Regions from separate parts of the Homo sapiens genome. Here all the other regions are linked to region 6. The links are contacts of gene promoters, found by promoter capture Hi-C in blood cells and fetal thymus (Javierre and others, 2016). All regions are on one chromosome and are shown on one strand. The core of a region is centred on a gene start or on the middle of the fragment in contact, and the rest is flanking DNA. Distances in the headings are between cores, read along the strand shown.

Region 1 (3,356 bases), core at 457-2,956, 1.2 Mb after region 6:
ACACCGTTCACCTACAAAAACAAATGAGTAAGGACAGTTAAGAAAAACAGAAAAAATGTTTTTCTACCAAATAATAAAGTATAAACTCTGTGTAAAATCACACAATTCAGTCATTGTCCTAGCAATGGGAGCACAGATCAGTGGAACAAAATATAGTCCAGAGATAACTGGAGAGGGCAGTGACTTTTCGATAAATATTTTAAGGGCATTTTATTATTTTTATATTTGGGAAAGTGTCTAATATACTACTGTATAATGTTTGCTAGATTAAATCCCTTATTGTTTTTCAGTGACCTTGTTTTGTTTGTGCTGTGACTGACCGATAGTGTTATAGGATTCTAGACACATAGCTTCTAATTCTCATTGACTATTAAGTATGTCCTTGGCTAAGGGGCTTTATCTTTCTAGCCTTTATTTTCTTCTAGTTTGAAAAATTAAAGATGAGCATAGGATTCTTAAAAATTCTAGGTCTTGTGCCATTTATGCATCTACTACATTCGAGAAAAATAGAGGATTTAAAAATATTGTTAGAAGGCACAAAACGGGTTGTGTTTAACATAAAGATTTTCCACTTAACTGAATGTCCATACCTTTCATGAAACAAAATTAATGTCCTTTGAAACATTTTTTTTCTCAAAGGGATTTTTAGCTAATCAGAAGAGAGCTGAAAACTTAAAGGATGCATCTGTATTACCTGATTTATGCCTGAGTCACGCAAATCAGTTGATGATTATGTTGCAAAATCATAGAAAACTGTTAGATATTAAGCAGAAGTGTACCACTGCCAAACAAGAACTAGCAAATAACCTACATGTCAGACTGAAGTAAGTGATTCATTTATATCTGTTTTAAGATGTTTAGAATTGGTATTTATATTTATTTCTCCCAAATGATGGAGTGATTTTTCCCTACCATTTTATTGAAATACCTTATTGATGAACTTTGGAATTAGACTATTTTTGTAGAGCTTATATATCTTGATTTCTTTGGCTTAACTAAGTTAGTAAGCTTACTAAGTAAGTAACTAAGTTAGTACCAGTTTTGTGAATGTTGAAAATAATGGATTTTATTCTCTAGGTGGTGTTGCTTTGTAATGCTTCATGCTGATCAAGATGGAGAGAAGTTACAAGCTTTGCTCCGCCTCGTAATAGAGCTGTTAGAAAGAGTCAAAATTGTTGAAGCTCTTAGTACAGTTCCTCAGATGTACTGCTTAGCTGTTGTTGAGGTTGTAAGAAGAAAAATGTTCATAAAACACTACAGGGAGGTATGCAAGTTGAATTCTATTTTAACTGTATATGAACTTTAACGAATTGGTGTATGTTTATGTTTAACATAAGCTTTCCTCTTCTAGTGGGCTGGTGCTTTAGTCAAAGATGGAAAGAGATTATATGAAGCAGAAAAATCAAAAAGGGAATCCTTTGGGAAATTATTTAGTAAGTGTTCATTAATAATTTTAATTACTTTTGTAAAGGATAAAAGTTTTTATAAGCTTGGATTTTCTGTAGCATACTTCATGTATATGCTGTTAATTGCCATTGATATCTAGGAAATATTCCTTTTAAAGTGTATAGAATTGAATCCATTGTTAAATTTTAAACTTGAAGTACTGTCAACTTTTAATTTACCTTTTCAAAAACCAGAGATAATTTTTTGCCTTAAATAAAGCTCTAAAATAACCATATTGTTAATTTCTTTATACAGGGAAGTCTTTTTTAAGAAATCGTCTGTTTAGGGGACTGGACTCCTGGCCCCCTTCCTTTTGTGTATGTATTTATTTTCTAACCATGACTAAATTCCATATGTTTTAAAACCTTTTTTCCAGAAGTAGAGACATTTATCAGAAACTTGCAGAAATTGTTGTGGTTTAAAAAAAATCAAAATAAAAGTGTTTTTGGCTTTAAAAGCCAGTTAGCATAAAGCTTTAAGATTGATATTTGTATTCATAATTTTTTATAAAGAATCTTCATAACACAGGAAGATACCTTATACTGCACTGTTAGGATTGGTAGAAATAGATTCACTTGGTTTTTTTGTTTTCTTGTCTCTTCCTTTTTTTCTTTCCACCCTTCCCTCTTCTTTCTTCCACTGCTCTTCTCCCTCCCTCCTCCTTTACAGCCTCCACCTCCTCCTTGCCCTTCTATATTTCTTTTCACACCACCCCCCTTTATATTTTGACAAATCAGAATAATAAAGCCTCAGTTAGACTTCACTGGAATTAAACGTTAGTTTGATATGTTTCTAAACCATTGTTATCTGGGGTCATTAATTGTATTACATGAGAAGAAACGTTTCCATGATCAAAGCAATATGGGGGCTTTTACCCCCATCAGATGTACTCTTAGCTGTGTTGTTGTTGTTTTGGAGACAAGAGTCTTGCTCTGTTGTCCAGGCTGGAGTGCAGTGGCACAATCTCATCTCACTGCAACCTCAGCCTCCTGGGTTCAAGCTGTTCTTGTGCCTCAGCCTCCCAAGTAGCTGGGACTAGAGGTGCCTGCCACCACATCCAGCTAAGTTTTTGTATTTTAGTAGAGACGGGGTTTCACCGTGTTGGCCAGCTGGTCTCAAACTCCTGGCCCCAAGTGTTCTGCCCACCTTGGCCTCCCAAATTGTTCAGGTTACAGGCGTGAGCCACCACGCCCAGCCATGCTTAGCTGTTAAACATGTTTCTATACTGCAGGATTTCTTAGTGTTTTAAATGTATGCATTTTTTAATACATAAGAATTGGTGACATAGCGATTCCCATACTTATTTATCCGAGAACTCTTTTTTATGAAGAGCATCTTGGCATCTCCACATCTGCTTGAGTAATGATTTAAAACAAGTTTTTTTTTAATGCAACTCTTGGCAATTTTATAAATAATGAATTGGTAGGATTTACCGGTTAATATTTTTTACAGAAGCTAAAATTGACCAAAACTTTGTCTTCTGGAAAATGTAATGGAAAAGTCAAGGCAAAAGCAAATAAGAAAGTGTTACATGGAAAAAAAATACATGTGTGCATTTTAATATATTAGTGGCTTTAACATGGTAAATATTATATATATACGCACACACTTACATATGTGTTTACCATATGTATATGTACATACATACACATACAGGATAGGAATATTGTAATTCCCATAAAATGATGCTAAAAGCAGAGAAGGGGAGGAACAAGTGCATCCCTTGATCACTAGCAGTTCACGTCGCAGTTTACTAAAGGCTCAGGAAAATAATATGCCATATCTTTATTGAATGGTCTTTTTTTGTTTCTTAATCATTTAAAGCACTTTAGTTTGTTTGGTATAGTAAATTTAATTATAGTAAGAAATCATATAAATTTGCTGTCTGTTTTTGGTTGAAAAAAAATTTT
Region 2 (3,210 bases), core at 664-3,163, 1.9 Mb after region 6:
GTCAGGAGTTCGAGTCCAGCCTGGCCAACATGGCAAAACCCCGTCTCTACTAAAAATACAAAAATTAGCCGAGCTTGGTGGTGGGCATCTGTAATCCCAGCTACTCGGGAGGCTGAGGCAGGAGAGTCGCTTGAACCTGCGAGTCAGAGGTTGCAGTGAGCCAAGATCGCTCCACTTCACTCCAGCCTGGTCAAAAGAGTGAGACTCTGTCTCAAAAAAAAAAAAAAAAAAAAAAAAAGAAATGGGACAAATACTAACATTAATAAAGTATGGTCAGTTGTAATCTGTATTTGAGAAGAAACCAAAAATACAGGAAAAGCTTTGACATTTTACTGGCAATTGTTAAGGATGATAATTGGATTCATACCTAAATGGCGTATCTGCCATTGATTATCTCTCGGTCAACGTAACATTGGATGTTGGATGTGAGTGGGTTTTATAATTAGGTGACACAGAAATATTTCAGCCCCCTAAAGACGTTTTTAGAATATGGTAAGATTTTTTCAGCTGTTGAAGTGGGGAAGGATTGTGAATCAAACACTATGTGTATGTGTATTCTCAAAAATTAATGAGAGGTATTGCTGATGGGAAGACATAGCATATTTTCCAGTTTAACCTGAAAATCCTTTTTGGAACATTATGCACGGGTAGCCAGAAATAACTCAACTTTATGTCTTGATACAAGACATGCATCAGGTATGATTTCTAGAGCTTAAAATATTCTTGGAGTTTAAAAACTAATTTGCATAAAACACTCTTCTGTGTTTTCTACTGAGCACTCTTCAGTAACTTGCAGGCTCTTAAAAACCTTTAATGATAATCATGTTATCAATTGATGAAGTCAGTTCAGTTTATAATCTAAAGTTATAATGAGCATTGAAAGAGCTGTAGAATGTGAAATGCTGTGAAGGTCTGTCTTGGTGACTTTCACAAACTGGCATCTCCAACTCTCCCTTCTTGGGGCCTTTGTTTGTTTTTCTCTCTCACTTCCTGAAGTATAGATAGATGTTGCCTGTAGGTGTTACCTTAGGTTTAGTTCTTTTCCTTTTTAGAGTTTGTTCTCTTCTTTGGCAATCCCACACAGATCCGTGGTTTCAACTGCTCATTCCCCTCACCCTCTTTGCTCAGGCTTCCACTTGTGTATCATCAGCCTTATTTTCATTCCCAAGCTTCAGATTTGCCAATGTTGTTCTCCCTGATCAACTTAGTAGCTGTCATTTTGTAATCTTGAATCAGTAGATTCAGAATTAAACTTTTTTTGCAAGCCTGATTCTTCTTGCTTGTTTATATTAATGACCTTTGCATTTTCTTAGTCATCTAGACTCAAAATCAAAAGGTCATCCTTGGTTCTTCTCTCTCTCCTTTTCTTAGAATTTTTTTTTTTTTTGTCATCTTACTGCATTGTGGTTCCTGATTTCTTCTATCTTTCTTCAGTTCTTCCAGCAGCCATATACACAGCAAGAGACATTAATCTCTAGGTTTGTCATTCATTGTGAATACTGCTTATTAATTGTCCTAAATGTAGTCCTGATCATGTTCCCTGCCTGATGACAAGCAAACAAAACAAACCCACTTGGGTGTTTATGTCAGTCAGTGTGCTGAATCCTTTGTTCTCATGTGGTCATTATAATTTATATTATCCCCATTCTACAGGTGAAGAAATTGGAACTTCATGATCTTGAAGGAGTTGTTAGTAGGTAGAAGAGCTCTGGGATTTGAATCCCAACCATGTCTTCTTCCAAGTCTGTGTTCTTGACCACTGTGCCTCTGCTGAGTGGCTCCTGATCCACTCTGGAAGAAAGCCCGAGTTCCTCAGTGTTGCCTTTCAAAACTGCATTATTTGACTTCAGTGCCCCTTTCAAAACTTATTTCTTGTTTTAGTTTAAAATATTAAGTTACATTCTTTCTGTCCCAGCAGCTGTTCCAAAAAGAATGTAAACTTCAGTTTTACTTTACTTTTTTGATTTCTTATGCATTTCCATTTCTTGGAATTTTTTTCTTTCTCCCATCTCTGCCTTTAGAAGTCTTCCATGTAAAAGTCTAGTTTATACAGCGTACACCGTATTTCCCTAGAGCCCCCACCTCCCAGTCTGTGTAGTACAGTAGTAAAATCTCCTGCACATTCATACAGCTGTTTAACCTGTGATGATACTTTGTACTCTAAATTTGTTTTGAGTACTCTAACAGTTGTAATTGGATTATATAAGATGCTTGAAGCACAAACTATGTCTTACTGTTCCTTGTGTCTTCCAGTGGGTGCTCAGGAAGTATGGGTAAATAAGTATGAAAATGATCACTGGTAAACTACCCCTTTCATTGGTATTTAAGCAGTATATTTGATTTTAGTTTCTCTCTCTCTGTCACACACACTAGCTTGTTTGAGTTTTTAATTGTGTGTGTCCACAACAGAACTAAATTTCTTGTTGTAGGCTATCATGAATTGTTTTCAGATTATAAGGTAATTATATTGTTTATTTAAGACAAATCAGTTTTGTCTTTCCATGTGCACATATCCTTTCTTGGTACTGTATATAAATTTTTAAAAAAATTAATGATTTAGTATTTGAATTATTTTCCATGCTGTTGAGTCAGACAAGTTTTCTAATGAGCTGCAATATTCTCATAAACTCTCTGATCTTACAGTTTCTTTAAGCTTGCATAGATGTGAAAGATGGAGTACAACTCTGTCTATACTTTAGTATTGTTTTCTTCCTTTTGGTGATATCAGGAAGCTCCAGCTGTACAATCAGCTGAAATGCCCTCACACAGATTATACATAATTCTTACATTGCTGAAGAGTTCATATGAAATTTCAGACTTTTTAAAAATAATCTATCGATGTTAATGGTTATCATGCAGAAGTTACAGTTTTTTCTTATATCTGCCATTGTGCCCTGTATTGTTTATAGTTTATCTAACTAATAAGTAATTAATTCTTGCTTTATAAAGTAAAAATATAATTCTGTTAAGAATTTTGAATGTAGGATATCTTGGTGATGGGAAGAGACGTTTTCTTTTTGGAATGTTAAAATGCATGCTTATAAAGGAATGAGACTGATTCTCAAACTAATCCATTTGTAGTCTACCTGCCCTTAGCTTTATAAAATATTAAAGTAATCATAAATACTTCTTTGAAGATACAAATTGTAAGTGAGCTTAAAATAATTCACTGACTTTAAAAATAGTTAATATATCACATGTTGCAAATTT
Region 3 (3,515 bases), core at 814-3,313, 1.9 Mb before region 6:
AACTTACTCTTATTGAGCATCTGCTCTATGTTGGGCACTGTGCAAAATACTGAGGATGGAAGGAAGACAGAACAGGCCATGTAACCCTGGTACGTGGAGAAAATACTTATATGTTCACATTCTTTATCTGCAAAATTACTGAACTAAGACAGTGAATTTAAAAATCATGATTTGTGAAGTTATTTTAGGAGGTATTAACAAGAGCGGGTGAGAAGCATGTCTTCATGCCCCTCACAGACACTTCAATACAACTGGGATTTAGGTTCCGGGATTCTGTGGAAGAGCTGATTTAACAAAAGGATTCTGCTATTAGAAGTTTGAAATCCTGGGGTTGGGCACAGTGGCTTATGGCTCTAATCCCAGCATTTTGAGAGGCTGCTTGAGGCCAGGAGTTTGAGATAAGCCCGAGCAACACAGCAAGACCCTGTCACTACAAACAAAACCAAAAACCAAAAAACAAACTACCCTGGTGTGGTGGTGCCTGTAGTTCCTGCTACTTGGGAGGCTGAGGTGAGAGGAATGCTTAAGCGATCACCACTCAGACAACAGAGCAAGACCCTCTCTCTCTCTCAAAAAGAGAAAGGTTTGAAATCCCCTAAACTGGAAGATTTTTTTCAAGCTCTCTGAATCTAATTCTTATAGAAAAACCATTTATTACAACAAAGTAAGTTTTACTTTACACCAATATGGTTATCTAATAGTAATTATACCATTAATTGAACATATGCCATTCAAGTGCTCTATTAACTTTAAAATGTGAGATAACAAAAAATCATTTTATGTATTAGCACACTCAATTAGCATTGGGCTGCACTCCAGCTTGATGGTCTCAGGCAACAGAACAGTAAATCTTATATAGCCAAAATGAAGACTGATAAAGAGAAATCTCTTGTGTGCAAATTCTGCTACAAGAGGGAGAAAGATACCTTTCTAAATAATGAAGGGGATTCCACTCACTACTCCATTCAAATATACTTACGAAAGCTCAGGAGACAGCAAAATGGAGAAAATGAGTAAGCTAAGTTTTATGTTCCTTTCATTGTATGCATATTTTCTTATGCTCGAGGAGCCTAGTGTTATAGGAACTTTATTTGTATAGCATAGCACTGAAACACAAACCAAACATTCCATCCAGTGATCAACTGAAGAAACAGTAATTTGTTCCATCGCCATGAGAGTTAAAGGGTTTCCGAAGGTAACTATGACACTGTACTTGGGCTGACTTTGGCTTCTAACTCCACGCTGTAATTTTCTCTGTGTCTAGGAACACAAAAGGTCTATGTGGAAGGACAAATGCAGTAGGGAAGTTTGAGACATCAAAGTGAGGCTCAATGTACAGTATAAATTATATTTGTTACTTGGGAAAGTTAACCAAGATGACAGTCTCTTTACTTCAGGCAAAAGACTATAGATGTTCACCTGGAATTTTTATCCCGTAGCATTTTTTTATCCTGCAGCATTTACCTACATAATACACTTCTCATGAAGTGTATTATGATTAGAATTTACATATTCTAAATTGGAGATGGAGTCTCACTCTGTTGCCCAGGCTGGAGTGCAGTGGCACAATCTCAGCTCACTGCAAACTCTGCCTCCTGGGTTCAAGGGATTTTCTTGCCTCAGCCTCCTGAGTAGCTGGGATTATAGGTGCCCACCACCATACCTGGATAATTTTTGTATTTTTATTAGAGATGGGGTTTTACCATGTTGGCCAGGCTGGTCTCGTACTCCTGACCTCAAGTGATCTGCTTGCCTTGGCCTCCCAAAATGCTGGGATTATAGGCATGAGCTACCACGTCCAGCCAGAAACCACATATTCCCTACTTTTCAAAGCTTTAAATTCCAGGTTGCTCTTATCTAATGGTGGCAACTCAGGAAGGAACACTACACACAGCAAAAGAGGCTACATTAAGTCAGCACAGGAGCTATAGAAAAATAAAAGATCTGCTTTCATAGAGATTCCAGAACCATGTTATAAAAGAAAATAAAAATTGTCTGATTACAGAATTATTTGGCATTTATATTTTATGCTAACAAATCAATACAATATTATAACAAATTATACATAAATTAACACATTATGGCTAATTTCAGCAAAAAAGGTTTATAGAATTTTATACTATATTACCTGAATTGTTGCCACTGTCTCTGATGTAATAGCCTTTTAATCCCAAATTGTACAATTTTCGATCCCTGCGAAGCAGATTAAGCAGTTCATATTGAAATGAATTAAGCCATCAGTTTAGAGGGAAAGAAATCTCGAGCCATCATAGATTAATTAATAAAAAGCTTATGAAACAGAAAAGCAATCTGCTAATACATTTCCCTCACTTATAATGTAGAGGCAATAATACATTTGTCATGGAGTTGTTGTAAGGACTGATAGTATATGTAAAATATTTAGCACAATGCTTAATACATGGTAGCATTTATTACTATAACTGCTAGTTACTAAAATTAAGGCTGGGCACAGTGGCTCCCACCTGTAATCCCAGCACTTTGGGAGGCTGAAGTGGGCAGATCACCTGAGGTCAGGAGTTTGAGACCAGCCTGGCCAACATGATGAAACCCCATCTCTATCGAAAACACAAATTAGCTGGGCGTGGTGGCAGGCGCCTACAATCCCAGCTACTAGGGAGGCTGAGGCAGGAGAATTGCTTAAATCCGGGAGACAGAGGTTGCAGTGAGCTGAGATCACACCACTGCACTCTAGCCTGGGCGACAAGAGCAAAAATCTATCTCAAAATAAATAAATAAATAAATAAATAAATAAATAAATAAATAAATAAATAAAGTGTAAGTTCTTCTGGACATCTGATATTCCTTATGATACATAAACAATGGGGTGTTCTCTAAATTTTGTTGTGAATAACAGTGGAGAGATTTAGCTTACATACATATAAATCAATATGCAGACACTAATCCATTTGCTAATAAGACAAACTATCCATTGTGAACAGTAGACAAGGTATTCATGGTCTGAGCAAAGGTTACCAAAATAAACCTAACAGAATACTTAAGAAAAAGTGGAAGACTCTGCTTTTAATATCTTCCTGACTATAAATTCAGCTGTAATAAACTCCACTGTAACTGCCACAAGAAGGCCAATTGCAAGTGGAAGCTAACATAACTTTTCTAATGGAGCTACAATAAATTTAACTAAATAAAATTCTAGTGTACTTGCTCTATTTCACATCCTCTTGCTTCTTTTTTGGAGATACTATATTAAATGTAAAGTAGGTGGTGACTCAGCAGGATGATGAACAGGCAAGGGGGTGACGTGCAAATGTGCTTTGGCAGCAACTGGTCCCCAGGAACATGGGCACTGGGGGTGGGAAGCAGGAGCTGCACAGGGGGCATCACTGGTCTGCCCGCCAGCACCTAAAGATATGAGGCACTGAAGTGTCAGGTGGAGGAGAGGACCAGTATGGTTGGTTGCAAGTTGGTTATAATGAGCAAATATGTAAATGTGTTGAAGATAATGTTAGCCAAGATTCCCCTTGTTGAAGGTTACT
Region 4 (3,245 bases), core at 184-2,683, 1.2 Mb after region 6:
TAATCTTAAAATTTGTAAGCAAGGGTAATAAGACACTGTAGTGCTAGCCTGACTGTATCAGTGGAATAGAATTGAGAGTCCAAAATTAGCCCTCGTATTCATGGTCGGTTGAACCCTTGCATTTTGGTTAAAGGTGCTGAGACGGTTCCGTGAAGGAAATAGCTTTTTCAGCAAATGGTGCAGGGATAGCATAGCTGGATATTCTGATGCAAAAGGATGAAGTTGGACCCTTTCCTCACCATATGCGCAGGTTGACTTAAATAGATCATAGACTTAAGTGTAAAAGCTAAAATTATAAAACTCTTACAGAAGTCAATCTTTATGACCTTATATTAGGCAAAGCGTCTTCCTAAAGAAGTAGCATGTTGAAGAAGACAGAATACCTGCCTTGCATCAAGTTACTTGAAATATAATTTGGGGATTATACCTGTAGATGAATTTTAAAACCTAAATAATAATTGTTTTTCTCTTTTCTAATTTTATAGCATTTTTTAAAATTTTCTAATTTGTTTTTGGATGTTTTAGTGTATTGGGCAAATTCACACCTGGCATAGTAACTAGTGAGTACATAGCATCCACTTAGTAAATCTACTGAAGTCTTTAGCCACTCAAGAACTACGACTTTATCATGGATTCACTCACAAATATTAAGAAGAGTGGTTCTTAATGCCTGGGAAAAATAAGAAATTTAAAGACATCTCTAGATAAATGCATACACAGAGTTTTACTTATTATTTCAAAAGGTTTATAGATCTAGGTCTGCTACAGAGAATATACAACATTGAAATTACATGCTAACTGAAATAAGCTACTTTTGAAAATTTATGAAAACCCTTAAATTGTTAAAGTGATCTGTATTAATATTTTAATTTCTAAAATCTTGAAGAATGTAAAGTTTAGAATTTCAAACTGAAACTCAATTATTCTCACTTTTAGAGAAAATATTCATATGTTGTCTGAAGAAAAACAGCGGATAATGCTGTTAGAACGAGTAAGTAAATTATCTTCTTGAAGTACCATGTTTAATATGTTCACTTTTGGATACAGTTAAACTTCATTCTGGAAACATACAATAGACTATTTGTGTTTATAAATTAAGCCTTTTTATGATTAACTTATTTTTGTGGTCACTGTTTTGGGAAGTCTTGTCATTTTATGATCTTACTAGCTAAACAGTTGACAGTATTTCAGCCCTCCCATTTGTTGTAATTTCCCAATGAATGAAGTCTGTATGAGAGGAAAAAGTTGGTAGTTTTTATTAAATCAATGTGTAAAGTAATAGTTTTACCTAATAGTTGAGAATTCAGCAAAATAACATGAATGGCAATTTTAAACATCTATTTCAAAAACAAAGTATTAAATACTTTTTAGAAATTGGCAAAAACAAAAATAAGTAATGAAGGGAGTTATGTTTTAAATAAAGAATTGAAATGGACAAGAAAAAACTGATAATAAAGGGTTTCCTTTATTAAGGGTACTATAAGATCAAATTGGTACACATTTGGCAGATCATTGTTCATAGATTACTTTTCATTCTTTAGGCCTATAAGATTTTCAACAATGCCTTTTTTTCTTTACAAGTGTAATTGTCTGATAAAAATCCAAATTCAGAATTGTACAACTTCATTTGAATATAGCATGTTTTCTATTATGAAAGGGTTATGTGATTTCCTACCTCAGCATAACCTGAGATGTATGTTACAGATGCCAGATGTATTCTCTTAGGCACGACTTAGTTAACAAAGTCTCTGGGGATAGATCTCAGATTTTTACTACATATTTATATATTCCACAGGTGTTTCTAACGCATATTAATGTTTGACAGTCCTTGGTAAATGTATCTAAAATTGCTCTGGTTCTCATTTAAGCTAGTAGATAATGAAAACATTTGGAAAGAATTCATAGAAAATAATATCCCCATCAACTTTTCATACCCGAACCAAACATTTTTGTCTGATGAAAACTTTGACAATCACTGTTTAGATTTATTTGAGTAGGTACAAGGATAAACCACAGGTCTCTTTTTTCCACCTGCAGACATTGCAATTGAAAGAAGAAGAAAATAAACGGTTAAATCAAAGACTGGTAAGATTTTTCTTCTTGGTAAATTGGTCTTAACATTTTTAAATGATTTGCATTATATTTCATTATGAAGATATTCCATCAGAGGATGTATGCTTTGATTGACTTATCTATAGTAGGTTTGTTGGTCCGTGTTGGTCATTGAATCCTATTGATTTTCAGAATGCTGAAGTCAGGCCAGAGTTATCTCCTGACTGTAGAGTCAGACTTTTTCCTTAGCGTGAAATTAAATAATGTCTTGGCGAATTTACGGCTGTAGGTCTGACCAGTTGAAGCACCTAAGATTCTTAAAATCATCAAAATCAGTTTTGAGTTATGTTTCATAAGTCTTTTGAAGATTAATATATTTACTCACAAGTGTGCGTAATTTTAATACATTGTATCTTTTCATGATTTTTTTTTTTTAAGACAGTCTTGCTCTGTAGCTTAGGCTGGAGTGGTGTGATCTCGACTCACTGCAACCTCCACCTCCCGGGTTCAAGTGATTCTTGTGCATTAGCCTCCCGAGTAGCTGGGATTACAAGTGTGCTGCGCCGTCACACCCGGCTAATTTTTACATAATTAATAGAGACAGGATTTCTCCATTTTGGACAGGCTGGTCTCAAACCCCTGGCCTCAGGTGATCTGCGCACCTTGGACTCCCAAAGTGCTGGGAGTTACAGGTGTGAAACATTGCACCCAGCCCTTTTCATGAATCTTATTTTTAAGTGAAAGTGCCTGAAAGGCAAGAGATCCCATGTGGTACTGTAAATTGCCCTGGTTTTTATTGATTTGTTTTGTTTCGTTTTTAATTAAAAAAAAAAAATCGAGACAAGGTCTCTCTCTGTTGCCCAGGCTGAAGTGTGGTGTTGCGATCTTGGCTCACTGCAGCTTCAACCTCTTTGGCTCAAGCAATCCTCCTGTCTCAGCTCAGCAAGTAGCTGGGAGTACAGGCGAGTGCCGCTGCACCCAGCTAATTTTTGTTTTGTTTTGGTTTTAGGTTTTGTTTTTTTGTTTTCGTAGAGATGGGGTTTCACCATCTTGTCCAGGCTGGTCTCGAACTGCTGAGCTTAAGCGATCCGCCTGCCTCAGCCTCCCCAAGTGCTGGGATTCCAGGCAAATTGGAATTGCCTGGAATTTTGCTGCACCCAACCAAACTGCCTTGGCTTTAACCTGTGAATTTA
Region 5 (3,058 bases), core at 304-2,803, 1.4 Mb after region 6:
ATATAATTTTAATGTATAATTTACAGATACATTTACAAATCTTAAGTGCACACTAGTTGAATTTGGGAAAATGTACACCTCGATTTGTCTAAAGTAAACACTGTTTTTACCAGAGGAAGTTTCTCCTACTTCTTCCCAGTTAATCCCCGTCTTTAACACTCAGAGGTAATCACTGTGGTGATTCTTTTCTACCATAGATTAGGCTTGCTGTTCTAGAAATTCATATGAATGGAATCAAACACATTGTATTCTTTTGCATAGGCTTTTTTTCACTCAGCATTGTTTTTGAGATTCATGCAAATTGGTGTATGCGTCAGCTGTCTTTTATAAAAAAAACTGCATAGCATTCTATTGCATGAATTTGCCACCATTTGTTTATTCATTGAGATGTGGGGTATTTCCAGATTTGGGTTATTATGAATAAAACTGCTTTTAGCATGCTTGTTTTCATTTCTTTTGGATATATACCTAAGGGTGAAATTGTTGGATCATAGAATAGGTGTATGTTTAGTTTTATCAGTAACTGTCAGTCCATTTTGCAAGGTGGTAATTCTAGTTAACACTCCCATCATCAATATATAAGAAGTCCAGTTGCTCCTTGTCTTCACCAGTATTTGGTGTTATTGATCTTTTTAATTTTAGCAATCCTTGTGACCATGTAGTGCTATCTTATGTGGTTTTACTTTGGATTTTGCCGACCACTGATGATTTTAGGCACTTTTTCATGAACTTACTGGTCACTTCTACAACTTTTCTGAAGTATCTGTTTTAAATTTGCCCATTTCCATAATTGAAATATTTGTCTTAGTCTTTGGTAGTAACAATTCTTCATATAGGTCAGATGCAAGCAATTTGTCAGATAAAGGTTTTTTGAATATGTTCTTTACGTCTGTGAATGTCATTCATGTTCTTAGTGGTATCTTTTCATGAGGGTAAGGTTTTAATTTTGATGAAGTCTAATTCATTAATATTTTTCTTCCATGATTATTTGTTTCTATAACTTCAGAAAACTTTGCATACGTACTCCCAAATATGAAAGCTATTATGTATTTTCTTATGGCCTTAACCTTTACATTTAGGTCTATGGTCCATCTTGAATCAATTTTCATGTATGGTGTGAGGTACTGAATGCCATTTGTTTTCCTCATAAAGACATCTAGCTACTCCAGTTCCATTTGTCAAAAAGGCTATATCTTTTCTCCAATGGATTACTTTTGTGAGTTTTTCAAAAATCAGATAGTCTTTAAATATATGTGTCTATTGCCAGGCTCTCCATTCTTTTCCTTTGATTTGTTTGTTGATCCTTAAGATTGACACTATCCTGAGATTGGAACTTGGCAGTAATTCCTGAAGTCAGATAGCTGTACATCCTCCAAATTGGATATTCTTTTTCAAGATCACTTGAGGCTGTCTTGGTCCTCTATCCTTTCTGTAAAAACTTTACAATCAGTTTATCAAAATCTACTTAAAAACACTGTTGGGATTACAAATATGATTCTTTTGAATCTATAGATAATTTTGGGGAGGAACTGATGTCACAACAATATTGAGTTTTACAATCTGTGAACATGGAATATCTCTTCGTTTCTTTAGGTCATTAATTTTTCTCAACAATGTTCTGTAGTTTTAAATCTAGAGATCTTGTTTCCATTTTCTGTTAAATCTGTTCATTGATATTTCATACTTTTCAGTGGTATTGTAATTGGATTTAAAAATTTTTAGTTTTCAATTGTTTTATGTTAGTATATAAAAGACATTATACATACAAATATCAATTAAAGAAAGATGGTTGGTATCTATCTCAACCTTTAATCCTGCAACTTTAATATAACTTATTAGTTCAGTAATTGTTAGAATTTTTTGTACTGATAATTATATTTTGTGCAGATAAAAACAATTTTACTTCTTTCTGTCAATCTTTTTACCTATTTCTTTTTCTTGGCCCTTTAAAATGGCTAGAACCTCCATATGTTGAATAGAAGTAAAAAGACTGGGTATTCTTCCCTTGGTCTTGTAAGGAAGAAAGTGGTTATTATTTTACCATTAAATATAGTATCAGCTGTAGGCTTTTCTTAGATGCCCTTTATTAGACTGAGAAAGTTTTCTTCTATTCCTGGTTTTCTGGGTGTTTTCTAAAATTAAAAAATGATTTTTTTTTTTGTTAAATGCCTTTCTGTCTATTAAAATGATCATGTAGTTTCAATTTTTATTCTATTAATGGGATGGATTACATTGATTCTCAAATATTAAACCAGCCTTGCAATACTGGGGTTAGCCCTATTTAGTAATAATTGCCAGGTCTAATTTGCTAATTTTGTTAAGTATATTTGCATCCATTTTCATAAAAGGTATTGGTCTGCAATTTCTTTTTTTCTTTTGTAATCTTTGCCAGACTTTGGAATGACCTTATCTAATGAGTTGGAAAGTATCTCCTCTTCTCTATTTTCAGAAATAAAGTTTATATAAGATTGGTTTAGAATTTACCAGTGAAACCATCTGAACCTGGAGTTCTTATAGAAAGGGTTTTGATAACAAATTCATTTTCTAAAATAGCTGTAGGGTGGCTCATATTTTCTGTTTCATTGCCTCAATTTTTGAAGGACGTATTTTTCAAGGAAAGGTCGTATTTCATCAAAGTTTTCATATTTGGTGGTATAAAGTTGTTTTTGGTAATATCATTTATTATCTTTTAATGTCTGTAGGATCTGTATTGATAACCTCTTTTTCATTATTGATGTTGATAGTTTGTGTCCTTTCTCTTGATCAATCTGGTGTATCAATTTTGTGGGTCTTTTCATAAAAACATATTATGACTTTGTTAATTTTTTTATTTTTTCTATCTTTATAATTATTTCATTAATCTGCACTTATTTTCATTATTTCTTTTTTCCTACTTACACTGGATTTACTTTTCTCTTCTTTTTATAATTAATGAAGTGGAAACAGTCATTAATTTTAGAACTCTTTTTAATATAGTCATTTAAAGCTATAAATTGCTTTCTAAATACTCCTTTAGCTGCATCTCCCAAGTTTTGTTATGACATATTTTAATTTTGAA
Region 6 (3,232 bases), core at 198-2,697:
TGTTCCTGATTTTGTTCCATAACTTTGTGCCTCTAGGAAAAGAGGAGAGCCTCCCGAAATCTGATGAGACTCGCTGTATCACGCCAGTCTGTGGCTTAGGTGATACAGAAAGGAAATGCGAAGATCAGGCCTCACTGCCAGCTTTGCTCAGTTACACAGAAAACATGCTGTTTCAGCTTTTGGGAGTTTCTTAGTACACGATCGGTTTCTTTTTCTCTTTTATGAAAGTTTTTCCCCTTAGATTTGCTTTCAAAACAACAGACTTTCACTTCTGGCTAAGACAGAATGAGTGACCTAGTACAATCTTTGACACTGTTATTATATATCTTTATTCATAATCAATGCATGATTTTGATTATTCTGACTTTAATTTTACGAGTAAAAATGGGTTGGTTATAAATCCCTTTCAAAGAATTTTTTTTTTTTCTTTTTGAGACGGAGTTTTGCTTTTTCTGCCCAGGCTGGAGTACAATGGTGCGGTCTTGGCTCACTGCAACCTCTGCCTCCTGGGTTCAAGTGATTTTCCTACCTCAGCCTCCCAAGCAGCTGGGATTACAGGCATGCGCCACCACACCCAGCTAATTTTTTGTATTTTTAGTAGAGATGGGGTTTCACCATGTTGGTCAGCTGGTCTCGAACTCCAGACCTCAGGTGATCCACTGGCCTCGGCCTCCCAAAGTGCTGGGATTACAGGAGTGAGCCACCGCGCCCGGCCCCTTTCATTGCTTTTTAAGGAAAACATGCTATCATATATACTTCACCTCCAGGGCAGTACATTCTTACTTTAAGGCAAAGACAGTTGCTGAGGCCTGGACTAGGGGAAAATTTGGGCTCCAGATGGGACTGTTGGATAAAATACCAGACGTCCTGTAAATGTGAATTTTAGATAAACAACGAATAACTTTTTAGTATAAAAGTAAATACTGCAATGGAATTTATTATTTGCTAAATGTGCAACCCTAGGTTAAGAGAGCTTTTCAGACCCACTTCTCAGCCCGAGTTTTCTATTTAAAATCAGAATAAGAACGCCTGCTTCATGGAGCTGTTAAATCCAAATGGAAATTAATTTGAAAGCGCGAAATCAAACTTTTCAAAAGAATGACGGTTACAATAAGAGCGTTTTGGCCTCTGCTAGCTGCTTCCGGGCGGAGGTCCTCGGCCTCCCCTAGGCGAGGCACTAGGTCTGGGGGCGGCGGGTCTTAGCGTGCCCGCCACGCTCGCCGCCTCCCACCTGCCCTGGCTGGCTGGGGCCCGACCCTTGCGTCGCTCCGGGGCCCAAGTTACGGACTCGGGAATCCAGTTGTCCGCACCGAACAAGCCCCGCCGCAGCGCCCGCCCCTCCTCTTGCTGCTTTGGAGTCTCCCGGCTTCCGCCTTCCGCAGCAGTCACGTGCCTCCGATCACGTGACCGGCGCCTCTGTCATTCTACTGCGGCCGCCCTGGCTTCCTTCTACCTGTGCGGCCCTCAACGTCTCCTTGGTGCGGGACCCGCTTCACTTTCGGCTCCCGGAGTCTCCCTCCACTGCTCAGACCTCTGGACCTGACAGGAGACGCCTACTTGGCTCTGACGCGGCGCCCCAGCCCGGCTGTGTCCCCGGCGCCCCGGACCACCCTCCCTGCCGGCTTTGGGTGCGTTGTGGGGTCCCGAGGATTCGCGAGGTAAGGCCGCCCTCGCGTTGTTTGGTCTCAGGCTGCAGACCAGGTCAGGCGACTCTTGCAGTTTCTCCAGCTTGCCTGGTGCGTGCTGGTGTCTCGCCGCTTGGTCCTCTCCTGTTCTTCGGCCCCCGGTTGCCAGATTGCTTTTCTTCCAGGCCTCAACCAGGTTTATTAAGCGAAATTCTGGAGCCTTTCTCGCAGGGGGAAGAAACGTCAGGGGCGGGCAGGAGAGTGGAGGGGGAGGGGTAAAAAGTATACCTTCTCCAGGACTGGGCCACGGCCCTGGATCGCTGGGGGTGCGAGTAGTTCAGGGACTTAGGTAATTGTCTAGAGACACCTTGAGCTACGCCAGGACGGGCCGCTGAGGCTGAGCCTCCTTGGCTGCAGAGTTCCAGCCTGGCCCAGTTGAAGCCTGTTTTTTCCTGGGCCCTGTCGTTCGCGCTGCCCAGGGTTGTTTATACAGCAAATCTTCAGATACAGAGATTAAGTTCCAAATTGATTAAGATCGTTGGAAACCCGGAATATAATTTTGGGTAGGATTTTAACTTCTTTGTGGCCATGGCCGTGAATTTATGTTTTGCAAGTGGCAACCTGTATTTTGCTTTGTGTTAAAATCAGTCGTTTGTATCTGGAAGTTTAGGAGTGAGAATTACATAGAATTTCATTATTGTAGGTTCTTGTCGTCCAGCCAGACCGCCATTGTTGGCTTACCTAAATTGTAATATGTATTTGTTCTAAAACTTTCTCTCCGAATTTTGATTTTGCAAATACTATGAATTTTGTTTGAAAAGGAAAGCACTGTCTTCTAAGAAATTATGTTCCCACTTTGTGTATTTTAATTTGAGTAATTTTCGAAAGGACTTAGAATTTTTAATGTGCCACTTCAAAATGATGCTTAGTAAATGTTTATAAAACTAGCCTTATCCGTACTATTCATATTCTTATTGTTTCTCTATGAGAAAAGTTAACCACAATTGTATAAATTTACAATTTTTCCCATATTTATACCTATTCTATTTAATCATGATTTCTGATTTCAGTATATTAGGTGATTGCTTTAAAAATCTTACTGCAGTGTTAGTGCCAATAATGAAAAAAATTTTTCTAGAAAAGCAAAAGCCTAAAGAACTCTTTTATGGAGCAGTGGACAATATTTGAAATATAATGATACTTTCAGACTTAGGACATTTAATATTTGAGTTGAATGCCTGGGGAGATTAAAGTGATCACGATATTCATAATCATAATATTAATAGTTGTAAAAAAAAGAAACACCTCGTATTCTGTTTTTACCTTGCATCAAAATTGAAGATTTGTTGAAAGACATTCAAGATTACGAAGTTTAGATGACCAAAATGGATATCCGAGGTGCTGTGGATGCTGCTGTCCCCACCAATATTATTGCTGCCAAGGCTGCAGAAGTTCGTGCAAACAAAGTCAACTGGCAATCCTATCTTCAGTAAGTACCAATTTGCTGTGAATCATGGACAGTCATATGCTTTTGCATCAGACTTTTTCATGGTCATGCTTCTATGAGAGAAATACAGGGAAAATACTGAAAAATGTGGAAGAAACAC
Region 7 (3,351 bases), core at 129-2,628, 1.2 Mb after region 6:
CAAATTGATCACTTCTGACTTCTAACGGTGATTTTCCAATTAGGGGGAAAAATTTCAGTGTGTACCTTAATTTCTTCTAGTGGTTAAAATAGTTGAATCACTGAATGTCATTACTTTAATGCATGGGCCCAAAAGAACAAAAAGGGACTAAAGGGATACATTTGCTGAAAATGAATAGTGCGGTATTTGCTTCAGATGCTCTGAAGTTGACTGATACAATAGATTGGTTATTTCCTGTTTGTTCAAAGTTGGGTGCCTTGAGGCCCTTTTCATTTTGAAATATCTTTATATGTGTTCAGCAAAGTATAGTTTCCTTAAAAACTTTGGGTTTCCTATAAAACTGACAGAAGTTCTCTAAAAGTTAAGTCGTAATTCACACAGACTTCTCTCTGGAAGGCTAGTGTACTATGGGAAAACACTCAAGACTCCTAGGAGCACCCCTTGTCTACATAAGAAGGTCTATTAGGCTTATGACTTAAACCTGAAGTCATAGCAAAGGGCCTAACAGCCACAGGCTTGATTCCTTACCCTGAAACTGTCTGTCTTTGAGAATTTTCAGCTTGCTGCAGAGACTGGATCCAACCCAGCAGAACAGTTTCTTCTCTGTTTCATCTCTCTCTTCCCATGCCTTACTATACAGAACCAAAATAAGCCAATTGATGCTTTGAACATTTCCTGGAAACTAACCTTAGCCAGAGTCACAACTTCATAGTTTTGCCATTTGTTTTGCCACCACAAGACACAAGTTCCTATCTTTCCAGCTTTCAGTAGCAGTTTCTTTACTTTTCCAGCCTCTGCTAGTACAATTTTCTTCACTATTCTTATAGCCTTTGTGAGGCAGTGCCATGCGTTCTAAGTTTTTGTTAGGGCAGCAGTCTCACTGTTGGTGCTAATTTCTGTATCAGGTGTATATTGTGTAACTGTTAATGCCTACATTTGCTGGCTTAAAATAACCATTTGCGCATGTGACTGCAATCATGTCTGGAGATTAGTTAGGGATGCCTTGGTTCCTTTTGAGTCTCTATCAAAATGCCTGGGGTTTCTTAAACAGTGGCAGCAGCATTCCGAAAAGAGTGACAGCAAAAGAAGCTTGGAAGTCATGTCACTTGGTCAAAGTAAGTCACAGAGCCAGCCCAGAGTCCAAGTATAAGAGTAGCTGCAAGGAAATTGTGATCTTTTTAAAATCACATTTTTTTTAAAGTTAGGTCTAAAATAGCTATTGCCCTTTAAGATTTAGATAAAAATTTATCGGTATACTTGGAGTTTGTTTTTTTTTAAGCATATGATTTAATGATGCCTAAAGGCACCAAATTTGGTAATGTTTACTTTAAAATCTCATTTTCATAGATTTATCCATTTTACTTTGAAGTAAAAACTGGAAAGCTGTGAAAACTCTTTATTAATGTCCACTAATTGATAGCTCTTAACGTTAGTCATACTCTTAGGACGTAAGCTGTCTTTGGCCATTTTAAAAAAATGCTTTGTATAGTTTATAATTTTTATGGGTAAGATGGAAGTTATTTCAAACAATTCTTAACATAGTGGTAATGAGACTGAACAGTCAGCTGTAAGCTATTTGGGTTTACATATTTCTTAGGTGTCTCAGACTTGGAAACCAGTTAGAGCTCCACCTGCTTGTTTCATTCCCACCTTAAAATGAAGCTTAATAGCAATACCAATTCTAATGTTAGTAGAAACAAGTAGCAAGCCTCGAGATAACAAAATGCAAGATTAGTCCTCCATGTACTCTTCTAATCAAAGCAGTAATATAATGTACATGTCCTGTAAGAATACACATAGGACTGCCTCTTTACCCAGTATCTATGCCCCATTGAAATACCGTGCTAGTGAACCATTTTAACCATGTCACCCTTTGGCCTTCTAGAGACAAGAATCCCTCTAACTGTACTAAACCATCACTAAAGTTTTAAATGTTGACAATTTAAGAATTTGCAACACTAGGCTCTCAAGAGCTATTTTTACAAATGTTATGTTTTGCTTTGGAATGAACTCTTCCAGTTTTGTGGGACCTAATAGCAAAGATGCTTTTGACAATCTAGTTCCAAATCAGTGGTGTAATACCCTTTTCTTAGACTGCTCTGGAAGTACCATCAATTAATTCCTCTAATAGTCATAGTATTAGTGAGGAGTTAATTAGGTGTCAACTGTAATCTCTCTGGAATTCTACCAGTGGGCTCCTTAACCAGCCCAGGCTTCTAACATGAATTGCCTAGTTTCTTAAAGAATGAGTTCTTAAACTTCTCCAAAAGTACGAAGCTTATCTTCACAAGCATACACTATAACTGTATTCTTTCAGCAATTTCTGGCCTAGTCATTTCTTAAAAGTTTATCTCTACATTCTACCTGATTGAGAAGCACGACTCCTGGAGTTGTCAACATGTCACCTTTAAAATAGGCTATCCATTGTCCAGTAAAAATCTGTGCCTTTTCCTTTCTGTTTTCATGCCACCATATGCTTAATTAGATCCTTTCTAAAAGTAATGCATTTTTTATTAATATTCCCCCAGTTCAGCCTATAGCATCAAAGAATACAGGGAAGCATGAGTGGGCTCCTTACTCCTTAAATGCTGACAATGGCCATTTCACACTCTGGAAATCTTACTAGAGGGCTCTTCCTATTAACAATTAGAACTAAAGGCAATTGTGCATATTTAAAATATTTTGAAGTGCCTTACAAATAATAGTATTTTATTAAATAACTTCATAAGTAAGAGCATTTAAAAATGCTACTCCTTAAGAGAATTCTCTCACCTCTCTGGTCTTGGTACTCCCATGTGAAGCGGGAGTATGACAGGTCACTGCCTAACTCTGAAACCTGTTATTTCCCAAATGACCTCCACGTTAACTAGCGATGACCATGAGCAATTGTGCACTCCTAAGACATCAGAGAGGCTTTTCAAACAATTGAATGTTAATTTTATTAAACAGCCATTTACTGTTATTAATAAAGAGTATGCTCAGTTGAGGTAGTTGAAATCTCACATCATGAACTAGCAACAGTCCCTAGTTCAGAGGATTGGAAGGTGAGTAGAGGCTTGTGACTATAACTGGAATGTCAAGATGTTTCTCCACATTTAGAGCACATGTGTGTGCATGTATAGTCATCTTTTTGCTTGAAAGATAAATCTCTTTCCTTTTATAAGTATGCCAGTACTGCGTGTTTTCTAAATATCTTCAAACTTTTGTGAAATTGAAAAATTTTATAATTTACTACTAGTTTTTCCATGTTGTATACGTGCAGGGCATGTCATGTGGGGTATGATACTGGTATAATCGGTAAAATGTAGTTGCCAAGAAAAATATACTAATAAATGGATTCTTTTTGTTGGA

Evidence for each region. Contacts are between HindIII fragments. The CHiCAGO score rates a contact against its expected background, and 5 or more counts as called.
Region 1: a contact is called between a fragment that was not itself captured here and the fragment with the promoter of ATP6V1H in region 6, in 8 of 17 cell types (naive CD4 T cells, total CD8 T cells, total CD4 T cells and 5 more). The highest score is 9.0, in naive CD4 T cells.
Region 2: a fragment that was not itself captured here is called in contact with the fragment with the promoter of ATP6V1H in region 6 in 2 of 17 cell types (non-activated CD4 T cells and neutrophils); the score reaches 6.0 in non-activated CD4 T cells.
Region 3: a fragment that was not itself captured here is called in contact with the fragment with the promoter of ATP6V1H in region 6 in 1 of 17 cell types (activated CD4 T cells); the score reaches 5.5 in activated CD4 T cells.
Region 4: a contact is called between a fragment that was not itself captured here and the fragment with the promoter of ATP6V1H in region 6, in 7 of 17 cell types (non-activated CD4 T cells, naive CD4 T cells, neutrophils and 4 more). The highest score is 9.5, in non-activated CD4 T cells.
Region 5: a fragment that was not itself captured here is called in contact with the fragment with the promoter of ATP6V1H in region 6 in 1 of 17 cell types (M0 macrophages); the score reaches 8.1 in M0 macrophages.
Region 7: a fragment that was not itself captured here is called in contact with the fragment with the promoter of ATP6V1H in region 6 in 4 of 17 cell types (naive CD4 T cells, naive B cells, total CD8 T cells and 1 more); the score reaches 6.9 in naive CD4 T cells.

Annotation. Positions count from the first base shown.
Region 1 is chr8:52,659,003-52,662,358 of GRCh38, reverse strand. RB1CC1 (RB1 inducible coiled-coil 1) reads left to right here. Exons shown (of 24, transcript NM_014781.5): 9 at 640-824; 10 at 1,078-1,264; 11 at 1,352-1,433; 12 at 1,702-1,763. Among named protein-coding and RNA genes, the nearest start is that of RB1CC1, 54 kb to the left of the region's middle. The HindIII fragment of the contact is 430 bases long and covers 1,492-1,921 here.
Region 2 is chr8:51,892,967-51,896,176 of GRCh38, reverse strand. All of the region lies in intron 1 of PCMTD1 (protein-L-isoaspartate (D-aspartate) O-methyltransferase domain containing 1), which reads left to right. Among named protein-coding and RNA genes, the nearest start is that of PCMTD1, 4.5 kb to the left of the region's middle. The HindIII fragment of the contact is 1,484 bases long and covers 1,172-2,655 here.
Region 3 is chr8:55,781,426-55,784,940 of GRCh38, reverse strand. TGS1 (trimethylguanosine synthase 1) reads right to left here. Exons shown (of 13, transcript NM_024831.8): 2 at 2,129-2,193. Among named protein-coding and RNA genes, the nearest start is that of TGS1, 9.7 kb to the right of the region's middle. The HindIII fragment of the contact is 456 bases long and covers 1,836-2,291 here.
Region 4 is chr8:52,633,761-52,637,005 of GRCh38, reverse strand. RB1CC1 (RB1 inducible coiled-coil 1) reads left to right here. Exons shown (of 24, transcript NM_014781.5): 19 at 937-991; 20 at 2,038-2,085. Among named protein-coding and RNA genes, the nearest start is that of ALKAL1, 70 kb to the right of the region's middle. The HindIII fragment of the contact is 6,087 bases long and covers 1-3,245 here.
Region 5 is chr8:52,454,506-52,457,563 of GRCh38, reverse strand. No RefSeq gene overlaps it. Among named protein-coding and RNA genes, the nearest start is that of ST18, 46 kb to the right of the region's middle. The HindIII fragment of the contact is 6,246 bases long and covers 1-3,058 here.
Region 6 is chr8:53,841,460-53,844,691 of GRCh38, reverse strand. It overlaps ATP6V1H (ATPase H+ transporting V1 subunit H), which reads left to right and starts at 1,447. Exons shown (of 14, transcript NM_015941.4): 1 at 1,447-1,658; 2 at 2,967-3,114. The coding sequence starts at 3,002. RefSeq lists enhancers at 12-61, 1,359-1,498 and a silencer at 1,139-1,288. The HindIII fragment of the contact is 7,596 bases long and covers 1-3,232 here.
Region 7 is chr8:52,614,765-52,618,115 of GRCh38, reverse strand. No RefSeq gene overlaps it. Among named protein-coding and RNA genes, the nearest start is that of ALKAL1, 51 kb to the right of the region's middle. The HindIII fragment of the contact is 573 bases long and covers 1,092-1,664 here.